4 separate regions of the Homo sapiens genome follow, and all the other regions are linked to region 4. The links are contacts of gene promoters, found by promoter capture Hi-C in blood cells and fetal thymus (Javierre and others, 2016). All regions are on one chromosome and are shown on one strand. Each heading gives the region's core, a stretch centred on a gene start or on the middle of the fragment in contact. The rest is flanking DNA. Distances are from core to core; before and after follow the strand shown. Region 1 overlaps KIAA0753. Region 2 overlaps KIAA0753. Region 3 overlaps KIAA0753. Region 4 holds the start of DERL2 (derlin 2).

Region 1 (2,713 bases), core at 174-2,673, 1.1 Mb after region 4:
ACAACTAAAGGTATGTACAAGGCCAGGCGCGGTGGCTCACACCTGTCATCCCAGCACTTTGGGAGGCCAAGATGGACAGATCACCTGAGGTCAGGAGTTTGAGACCAGCCTGGCCAACATGGTGAAACCCGGTCTCTACTAAAAATACATAAAATTAGCCGGGCGTGGTGGCATGCACACCTATAAACCCTGTTACTCAGGAGGCTGAGGCAGGAGAATCGCTTGAACCTGGGAGGTGGAGATTGCAGTGAGCAGAGATCACACCACTGCACTCCAGCCTGGGCAACAGAGTGAGATTCCGTCTCAAAATAAATAAAATAAAATAAAGGTATGTACAGCCATATATGGGAGCCATTCTTTTACTCAGCTGTGGAAATTAACAAGTCAATTCTGAAATCTAAATGGAAATTCAGAAGGCCAAGAACAGCCAAGATACTTTTTTTTTTTTTTTTGAGACGGAGTCTCGCTCTGTTGCCCAGGCTGGAGTGCAGTGGCACCATCTCGGCTCACTGCAAGCTCCGCCTCCCGGGTTCACACCATTCTCCTGCCTCAGCCTCCTGAGTAGCTGGGACTACAGGAGCCCGCCACCACGCCTGGCTAATTTTTTGTATTTTTTTAGTAGAGATGGGGTTTCACCATGTTAGCCAGGATGGTCTCAATCTCCTGACCTCGTGATCCGCCTGCCTTGGCCTCCCAAAGTGCTGGGATTACAGGCATGAGCCACTGTGCCCGGCCAAGATACTTTTGAAGAAGAAAAACAAGGTGAGAGGCCCTGCTCTCCTAGACAGAAGGATGGTGGTGCTTAGATCCCAAAGTCCTGCTAGAGGGACAGGCCTAAAACATACACAGGATGGACTTCATCCTCAATGTGTTTGAAACCAGAGGCGACCAGAAACTAACCAGCTGCAACCTAGCCCCACCTCTAACAGCTGCCTGACCGGCCGACGGAGGAAGGGGTGTGCCTTCTCTGTAGGAGACGGGGGAGGACACTAGGGGACTCTGCACGGGTGCTCCTCTGTACACACACACACACACACACACACACACACACCTTCATTTTCTGAACGGCGCAAGCTTCGTATCTCCCAAGTAGCCCTACAAACAAGGACATTCTCTTAAATAACTATGGTACAATTATAACAATTATAAAATTAACATTGATACAAAACTAGTATCTATTCTACAGGCCTATCTATCTACAGGCCTTATTCAAATTTTGCCAACCATCCAAATAATTTCCTTCAAAAGAAATTTTTTGCTAGTCCAAGGTTCCAGTCTGGGATTCCATGTCGCATTTTGTTGTCACAGCTCTTTAGTCTACTGTAATCTAATAGTCCTTCAGTCTTTCTTTGCCTCTCATGACCTTAACATTTTTTAAAGAATAAAAGCCTTTTTTTGGGGGGGTGGGGAGAATATCCCTCAATTTGGGTTTTTTCCTTATGATCAGATTCAGGACATACGGTTTTGAAAGAGATGCCACAGAAGGATAGTGTGTCCCTTCAGTGCACCATGATATCTATTTGATATCCATTAATGATGTCAGTTAATTTTGCATCACTGGGTTACGGTGATGTCTGCCAGGTTTCTCCCTTGTAAAGTTACTGTTTTCCCCTTTGTAATTAATAGGTATAGTGGAGGGAGATACTTTGAGACTATGTAAACTCCTGTTTCTCATGAAATTCGCCTAAATCAATTATTACAGGGTTGCCAAACACGGATTTTCTACTTCCATCACTTCTTCTCCATTTAATAGCTGGCATTCTACTGTAATGAAAGCTTTCCCTTGTCTTTTACTTATGTATTCATTCCTATCAGTTTGGCCTTATAGATTTTTATTTTATTGTATAGTTTGTAATCCATTACTATTATTACATATTTCGATGCTTGAAAATGTCCTGGATTTGGCCCGTAGGTGCCTCTTGGGAACTCCTGTGAACTCTCGACATGTCCCCATCTTTCTTTGAGCACTTCCTTTCTAGCACAGTATGTCTGAGGCTTATCTTACATTTTTCCAGCCCCAGGCTTATAGTCAGCCATTCTTCCAAGAAGCCCTCGTGCCTCTTCATCTGGTGCCTCTTCATGGAGAACGGTATTTAGAAACCAAGATGTGGGTACTGGGTGTGCTCACTGCTACTGGCACCTCTGCTTCTGGGCCTTCTCAGCAGACAAACTAAGAAACACCCTGTATCTATTTCTACGTCTATAAAAAACCATATATTCATCCCAGCCTTCCCCTAGAAACCTTGCTCCCATTATTCACAATGTACTTACTTATTTGACCAATCCTAAAATATAGAGAAAATAGTTTTCAACTGTTAACCCATGTCACTGTATAAAAGAAACCTACAAACTAGAATCCAGTTATGTGTTTACAGTTCTTTTTGTCTTTAGCCAGAGGTAAAGAGTCAACATACTGTGTTCAAAAGTTATTTAGGCTTCATGCCGTTAATATGATTATATTATTTATTTGAAATACAGTTAAGTTCATGTTTCTGTTTGTATTCGACTTAAGGCCCCCGCCCCATCCCTGTTGACTAAGGGGATGTATAAGAAACATTAACATGGTTTCAAAAGTCAGAGTTACACAAAAATGGTAAATGCAGATAAGTTTCACTCCCCCTCTCCTATTCCTTCTACCCCATTCCCACCCAGTTTTTGTTTTTTCGCTAATCTGACAATCTTTTGTCTTTTAATTGGCATGTAAGGTCCTTTT
Region 2 (2,700 bases), core at 11-2,510, 1.1 Mb after region 4:
TATTCTTCCTAAGAAGCAAACACATACCTCAATTGTTGGAGTCTATACATTTCTTCAGCTTTGAGCTCATTCAGTTCCTTTGTTCTTCTAGAAGTTTCAGCATCAAGCCAATCAAGCCTAGAGAACAGTATCAAGAGTCACCCCAACTCTCCTCAAGGCAGAGTCAGGGCTCCCTTGAGCTCCAGTCTTGGCTCCCCCCTTGGCTTCTTAAGTGACTTCAGTCTTTTAAGGAGGCAGAAGTGTAGCTAGACCTAAATAATCTCTATTTATCATTAATGTATAGAGATGTAGAATAGGCCTGCTTACCTTTTCCTAACTCAGAAGCAAATATTTACCTCTGTTTTTGCATGCTGTCAATTTCCTTGGCTTTTAACTCTTCTAGTTCCTTCAATCTTTTGGAAGTTTCAGCATCAAGCCAAGCGAGCCTAGCAGACAGTCAAAAGAGTCAAACCAATTCTGCCTCGACACTGCAGGGTGTCATCATCACAGAAACAGACCAGAAATCAGGACCACTGCAGAGCAGAGCACCAATCCAGGCTCTATTAAGCTACTCAGTAGGTAACATAATCTCTCCGTACCCCTAAAGCTCTCTAGAACGTGTTCCATGTCAAAAAACATTAATGCACAACGCAATGAGAACCTGTCTCAAACGTTCTCAAGAAAACCAGCTATCACTCAGACTTGGGGTTTCTTATTAGACTCAAACAAAACCATTGCTATATCTTCAAGTTGAGACAAACAATGAGCCCCCAGGAGCCATATAGGCATGGTGAAGTCAAATAAAAACAAAAGGGAAAAGTTAACTGTGAACAACTCTGCTGTATGTAAAAGTGCTTTGATTCTTTTGGTTTAGGATATATGAATATTGTCAAATTATTTAATGGACCGCTTTCATTTTTGTTTTCCCATAACTGTAAGAATAATTTCAGCCAAATGAATACAGAGAAACCTGTTCTCACTGTTCTCTTCTTATGGAATGTTCTCACCTCATCTCCCATATTGAAATCCTGCCTGTTCTTCAGGTCCTAGTTTAATTTCCATCCATGAAGCCTAGACCTCTGCAGCCAGAAGTAACCCTCCCCCGTTTCTAAACTCTCTCAGTTCCTAGGTTACATACCGTGTTCTATCTTAAATTATAGTTAATTACATAACTTCTCTATTGACTATAAATAAGCAAGGGCTGGGATTATGGCCTATTTGCCCTTTTTAAAGTCTCCATAGAGCTCATAACACTGTCACATACAAAACTAGCAAGTGATATATAATTGACACATATATAATTTATGAATGAATAAGAAAAAATAGAAGAGCTCACTATAAGCTATATAGTTTGACTGAAACGTTTAATAAACTACATTTTATGTATTTATTCTATTTTTAAAAATAATCTACATTTTAAATAACCAACTTTAAATGTAGGAAAGAGAAGAAAGGGTTCACTTCCAAGTCTATGTAAAAGGAGCTCTTTAATTCTCAAAGATCTGAAAAATACCAGCACAAACCTGGCTGCTTCATGCTCAACAGCACCTGTCAGGTGACTTTCCTCTTGAGGATCTTCTTGCTGGAGAGGCTCTTTTGTGGCATCTCTGGGGCTAGTTTTCACCTTTAGCCATGCAGCACTGAAATAAATGGAAAAGCATACCTTTGTCATCATTCACTCCGTATCCAATGACTCATCCAAGTAGGTGCCAGCTCAGAGATGACAACAGCATTAAATTAATGGTGATCTGTAGCACGGGGCCCTACAGTAGAAGCTGAATGTGAAGAAAAGTGAGATCCTCCCGCACTCAGGCACAGTGTCAAAGGGCAGAAATTCTCCTTTGCTTCAAAGAAGCCATCACCATTTTAAATGAGAAACAGTGATCAATTACAGAATATTGGGTGAGTGTCAACAAAACTCTGTCACAATACATAGATTTGGATCACTAATTACATTCCATATTATAAGGCAACTCCGTATCTTTATAAGGCCTAACAGCACTGTTGAGCCTAGAAGCCTCACCCACCCTCCTCTACCCACCACACATGCACTCTAAAAGACAGTCCATTGTATATTTGGTTTGTAATACAAACTTCAACCACTGAGCTTATCAACTGAATGTAAATCTCCATATTAATACTTGTATACAAAAATACAGAAAACAGAATAGAGTAATAAAAACAAAAAAAGCACATTATGAAGTCAGAAGACCTGATTTTAGGTCTGGCTGTTACATGAATAAGACATTAAATTCTCTAAACATTGTTTCCTTAACTTGAAAATGAGAGTGGATGGATGAGCACGGCCATTCCTTCACACTCATTCGGAATCTTAGGGGGCTTCTCTTCCACCAAGCTGCTCACCCTGACTTCTGATGGCTCCAAAGACAGAACCCTGTAGTCACCTATCTTCTCCCTTCTCCCCTGACATGACTGCTTTTTACTTCTTTCCTTTTTCTGTTCCACCTCCTGGTCCTTTCCATTGTGTTTTCAAAAACTACTGCCTCACGGCAAACGAGCTCCCCTTTATCTTCAACCGATTCCCCTAAAGATTATTTCCACCTAACTGGACCCTGCTCCTCTTCTCTCTAGCCCTGTGAAATGGCAGCTTCTCATTCTAATGTGCTATGAGTGAGGATGACAAGACAGTAACATCAACATTATCCTAATTGCTCCCTGCAGCTAAGACAGTGTTGGTGAGATCTATATAGTTTTATAGTT
Region 3 (2,700 bases), core at 100-2,599, 1.1 Mb after region 4:
ACTGCTTGAACCCAGGAGGCGGAGGTTGCAGTGAGCTGAGATCGCACCACTACACTCCAGCCTGGGTGACAAAATGAGACTGTCTTAAAAAAGAGAAGAATTAAAAAAAAGAGAGAGAGACATTAAGATAGCATCTTATTGTAAACATTTTTTTCTTTTTCTTTCTGAGGCAGAGTCTCACACTGTCACCAGTCTCACACAGCAACCTCCACCTCCCGGGTCAAGTGATTCTCCTGCCTCAGCCTCCTGAGTAGCTGGGATTACAGGTCCACACCACCACACTCAACTAATTTTTGTATCTTTAGTAGAGACAAGGTTTTGGCCTGTTGGCCAGGCTGGTCTCAAACTCCTGGCCTCAAGTGATGCACCTGCCTCAGCCTCCAAAAGTGCTAGGATTACAGGTGTGAGCCACCATGCCCAGCCTTAATCTTGATTTCAAAAGACAAGTCTTTTCTCTAACATATTAAGATAGCAAGTCTCAAAATTATTTGAGTGTCTAGAGTCTTCATGTATTTCTCAGGAAGCATACCCTTGTACACACTGGTACTCTATATCTTGAAAAGATTGGTTCAAAGAAATTGTTTCTGGAAAACTGTTTGAAGAAGATGCAATCTATCTATTCCTTCCAGGCTGTGGTTTTCAAATACACTTATACAAACAAATTCTTATACGAAACTCCAATATACTCCAATTATCAAAGAAAAGGGAGTCTTCAATTAGTAAAAGTGTATTTTATAAGTTCAAATTTTTAATATTTACTCTTTAAAACATCAAACAATGCAAAGAGTATAAGGCTGTTTTGAAGAAAGCAAAAATCTGAAGTCAGGAGTTGTAGATACAGATGCAGTCTCAAGAGACCCTATATGTCTAATTACTTTCATCTCGTTTGGGCTGCATGGTAGGGGAAAATCCGGATTCACATACTTCTATGAACATAAATGGAACGGGCTTAGGTGGGGGGTTTGAAGGCTCACTGCAGATGATTCCCATGCAGCGCCTGCAGCTGTCTACAGAGCAGCACTGGGAAGCACAAATGGGCCTTCGGGGCTACTTCAAAGGGGGTCTGCAGCCAGGGGCCATCGCAAAATATTATTAATCCATGAAAGGTAAGTACAGAAATTTAAAGTATATGTTTACGTGTTTCCATAGCAGTTTGCCGCTACTGTGACATTTTTATTATAGTTCACAAAGTATTGACTTATGACACATTGAAAATTCATGTAAATAAAATAAACCAACCCAGTCCTTCCCCACAGAGACTTTGAAAGCTCTGTTCTAACAGTTCCCCGGTATTAGGCCAGATCACCAGAGCAGTGGGCCTTGTGGCTTTGTTCCCCTGGTCGCAGGGCTTCCAATCAAAGTAGGTAGGGGTCCATGCCACAGGCTGACACTAAGGAATATCAAGAGAAACAAGCCACAACATTTCTGTTATTTTTATGCTGGAATGGTTTTGAATTGTTCATGATATTATACAACACACTCTTTAAGAAGACCTACAGGAGAAATTTCTTTCTGGCCTTAATATGTGGAATAATTGTTTTCCTTACACAATTGTTTTTTTCTGTCTTAGACTTTGTAAATTCTCCAAGTGATTTGACGTTCCCTCTTTAGCTGGCTCCTAGGAAGCTCAGAAGCAAATCTGTGACTCATCCCTAGTAAATGTTTTTCCTTTCCTTATTGTTTCCTTTGCCACAATATCCTCATGTGCATTTTTGTTTTATCTTATTCAATCACAGGTATTTCTTAAGGTACCTTAAATTCTTTCATAAGATGCATATAGGTACATATGCATATATTAATTAAATTGAAAATGCAAAAAATAATTCTAGACTATGTACTACCCTAGTGCAACGGTTTCTTTTGATGCTCAACTCCATACCCCTTGCAATCTGAAAGCTGGGCTTGGTTCCCTACTTGTTAGTTACGGTAACCCCAAATTCTCCACGTGGAACCAGTCTTCTACTCAGCAGGGAAATACAAGGGCCCTGAGAACACTGCAGAACTGTAGAAAACCATATATGATGATTAAATTCCTTCCTTCCTACCCTGTGCTCACTTTACACATATACCCACAACTTCCCTTGTCACTGGTGTGTACTCACCTAAATACTGCCCAAGTGAGAACTGGTTTTACCTATAATATAAATACATTATGCTCTCTTTTCAAGCAAATTGAAAAATAATTTTCCCAGAAGAGGGAAAACATTATAGGATAATTTGCACTCAGGTCCCAGAAGACCTAAGGTTCAGCCAACATTAATGCCACCTCGTAGGCTGGGCCCTCAGTCAGTGGACATTTGAAGGGCAGCCACAGTGAAGAAGTTCTTTCATGTCCCTCCGCTGGAAAGAGGAGCTGGGGCAAGACACTGTTCAAACTCCAAGCCTAACTGTCTTGTCCTGAGTACTCACACTCCAGTGAACCAACTCACAGAAGGAAAGAATGAAATTGCTATAGGGGTTGAGGGTCCTCAAGGAATGCATTTAAACTACCCCATAATCACAGCCTTAGGTCGAAGTAAAGAATCTAATTTTTCTCACCTTTTTTAGTTACCTCTTCAATTTTGTGGATACAACTGCTCAGTTCTTTCTGGAGTCGCTGGACTTCTAGCAGGCTTTTCTGTTCACTTATGTTTTTGTGGTCACCTATCCTGGGATGAGGCTGAAGTCCCGGATCATGGGTGGGTGGCGAATTTGGCACAG
Region 4 (2,700 bases), core at 172-2,671:
GGCCATCCCTGTGAGACAACCCCTAAGCAGCTAGCTAGTCAGCCTCCTCTCATAGGACAACGTTAAGTCTAAACCAGTGATTTCCAAATACAGGAACTGGACACATCAAAACGATGCAGGGAACTTTAAAAATAAAACACAGATTTTAATTCCTACCCTTGCAAATTCTGATTTGGTACTTGTTGAGGAGCTTGAGAATCTCTTCAAAGTTCCCTAAGGGATTCTCAAGTCCAACCAGGCTGCAGAATCACTGCTTTATATCCTGACAAGGCAACTTATAATCAAAGGTCCCCACTGGGTTCTTTTTTAGGATAGTGTATAACAGGATTTGCTACTAAACAGTAAGAAAAAGAAGAAACTGAAGCATTAATCACTATTGTGATGAACCACTTACTTGAAAGTGTTTAAAGATTAATTCAGGATTGAAGTACAACTGAAAAGGTGTGATCAATTCCAACTGCTGAAATAGAAAAAGAGCTTCTTAAAGCAAATCAAGAAACAAAATTTCATCATTTACAACAAAGAATTAGTAGGTCTAGCAATTTCCAACTCTCGGTCACTTAGACGTGATTTCCTTTAAGCCTTTCTTCTTAGGCCAGAGGAAGAGGTTGGTAAAGAATTCTCTAGGATTGGTAGAATTCTTTGTATCCTCAATACCTAACACAAAAAAGTCTGTTTTATGTTGCAATAGTTGAGGCTGACATGAAGAAATGAGGCAGACAGGTGGTGATATTTTAGACACAGGACAAATAAAAACAGCTGCTATGAATCTACCCACCACATGGGCACCACCTGAAACAGCTGTATGAAACAACAAAACTCACTTGAAATAACGGAGACTGGAGACCCTGCCACCGTTAGGGCTGGGTACCTCCAGCTAGCCCCTTATTTAGATCCAGAGACCCTTTTTATTATAAGCCATTCCCCTCTCGACAGTTTCCAGCTTGCTTTCCCCATTCCTGTTTCTTCACTAAACGGACCTTCCTCTCACTAGTCACCATGGTACCACCTGGCCATTGGCAGAGCTCTCGGACACATTTCTTGGGTGGGAGGCTCCCGCAACCCTAACCCGCTATAGGTCCGGCGCTCATCTCTTAGAAACTGACCTGACCCCCCATGAAGCAGCACTCCCTTCTCGCGTCACTGGATAAGCATTCTTGGCGCCAACTCGAACCCCAGAGTAATCCCTGTACGCCTCCACCCATCCCCGGGACCAGCCCCTCTGGGCCTCCCCGAGGCCCAAACCCCAGTTTCCTGAAGACCCAGTCATATCCAGCCCAGATAATGAGAAGGTGGCACTGCAGCTGCTCACCACGGCGGCGGTGGTGAGGACGCAGGCAGTGGTGTAGGCGCGGCTGACCGGTGGGATCTGCAGGTACTCCAGCCGCAAGCTCTGGTACGCCATCTTCCCCACCGTCGCCTGCCCCACCCCCCACCCACCCCATTTCCCCTTCCGCCAGCAGGCCCCGGCGGCGGGGCGGGCCCAAAGGCCCCCCGCCCACTTTAGTTTTCCCGCGACTGCCCAATCAACGCCAAGCAACCGCAATCCGTAGAGACCTAAGGAACGCACATCCGCCAATCACGAGTTGCGTCGCCACCGCCCCCCCCCAGCGCCCCATCTCCCCACCCTCTCTTCTCCACCAGCCAACGTCCGGGAAAAACGAGTAAGTACAGGTTCCTTCTGCCAATCCCCGCCGGCCACAGCTAACTTTCCCGCCCGGCCCCTTTCTGTCATAATTGAGGTGTCCACAACCAGCCAATCAGGAACGCGAGAGTATCCCGCGTTTGCTTTCGCTCGCCGAGGCGCGTATCAGTCGGAATTTTGGGGAGCCAACCGCGCCGTCTGTCCCTGGCAAGCCAGCGGCGGTTTAAAGGAGGTGGCGGGAAGCCTGTGTGTGCTTCAAATCGTCACCCTCATGGTCGCTCCGGTAAGTGCTGCGGGGCAGCATTTTCTCTGAGGAGGAGCGGGGACGGGCGAGACTGGCATAAGCGTCTTCGCGAGGGAGCAAGGCGGCCTGTGGGTCGGCCTCACCCCGGCCTCCGACCTGAAGATCCCAGCATGCAGCGCGGGCGCGGGGCCCGACGGAAGCCGGGAGCCGGCCGGAAGCAGTTCCTGCGCTCTGGCTTCTGGGTCCTGTCCTGCGCGATCGCGGGGTCTTAGACAGCTCAACTCGCCGAGATGACCTGGGCACCTCTGCGTTGAATCGGCAAATACTGATCAAGCCGCATTTATTCTGCTCTCAGGAACTCTAAGTCTAGCAGAGAAGATGAGGCGGTAGAAGTTCATCAGTCAGTGCCCGAAGAGAGGTCCTAATGGGAATTCGAAGAAAGGAGTTAATCAAGGAAGTGTATTTTTTTGTTGTTGTTTGAGATGGCGCCCACCTGTAATCCCAGCTACTTGGGAGGCTGAGCTAAGAGGATCACTTGAACTTAGGAGGCAGAGGTTGTAGCGAGCCGAGATCATACCACTGTACTCCAGCCTGGGCGAAAGAGTGACACTTTGTCTCAAACAACAACAACAACAAGAAAATTAGCCAGGCATGGTGGCCTGCACCTGTTGTCCCGGCTACTTGGGAGACTGAGGTGGGAGGATTGCTTGGGCGCGGGAGGTTGAGGCTGCAGTGATCTGTGATCGTGCCACTGCATTCCAGCCTGGGCGACAGAGCGACAACATGTCTCAAAAGAAAAAAAGAAAAACAG

The links. The method cuts DNA at HindIII sites, captures the fragments that hold promoters and counts their contacts. A CHiCAGO score of 5 or more calls a contact.
Region 1: a fragment that was not itself captured here is called in contact with the fragment with the promoter of DERL2 in region 4 in 1 of 17 cell types (M1 macrophages); the score reaches 5.1 in M1 macrophages.
Region 2: a contact is called between a fragment that was not itself captured here and the fragment with the promoter of DERL2 in region 4, in 3 of 17 cell types (neutrophils, M2 macrophages and endothelial precursors). The highest score is 7.4, in neutrophils.
Region 3: a fragment that was not itself captured here is called in contact with the fragment with the promoter of DERL2 in region 4 in 2 of 17 cell types (M1 macrophages and M2 macrophages); the score reaches 9.0 in M1 macrophages.

What each region holds. Positions count from the first base shown.
Region 1 is chr17:6,579,881-6,582,593 of GRCh38, forward strand. All of the region lies in intron 18 of KIAA0753, which reads right to left. Among named protein-coding and RNA genes, the nearest start is that of PITPNM3, 25 kb to the left of the region's middle. The HindIII fragment of the contact is 702 bases long and covers 1,073-1,774 here.
Region 2 is chr17:6,606,846-6,609,545 of GRCh38, forward strand. It overlaps KIAA0753, which reads right to left. Exons shown (of 19, transcript NM_014804.3): 10 at 1,503-1,619; 11 at 336-425; 12 at 28-117. Among named protein-coding and RNA genes, the nearest start is that of KIAA0753, 33 kb to the right of the region's middle. The HindIII fragment of the contact is 3,434 bases long and covers 1-2,700 here.
Region 3 is chr17:6,625,579-6,628,278 of GRCh38, forward strand. It overlaps KIAA0753, which reads right to left. Exons shown (of 19, transcript NM_014804.3): 3 at 2,539-2,700. Among named protein-coding and RNA genes, the nearest start is that of KIAA0753, 14 kb to the right of the region's middle. The HindIII fragment of the contact is 4,167 bases long and covers 1-2,700 here.
Region 4 is chr17:5,484,757-5,487,456 of GRCh38, forward strand. It overlaps DERL2 (derlin 2), which reads right to left and starts at 1,422. Exons shown (of 7, transcript NM_016041.5): 1 at 1,313-1,422; 2 at 395-460. The coding sequence starts at 1,405. It overlaps MIS12 (MIS12 kinetochore complex component), which reads left to right and starts at 1,810. Exons shown (of 3, transcript NM_001258217.2): 1 at 1,810-1,928. RefSeq lists enhancers at 1,080-1,259, 1,300-1,359, 1,980-2,079, 2,320-2,429 and silencers at 1,530-1,689, 1,639-1,806. The HindIII fragment of the contact is 9,497 bases long and covers 1-2,700 here.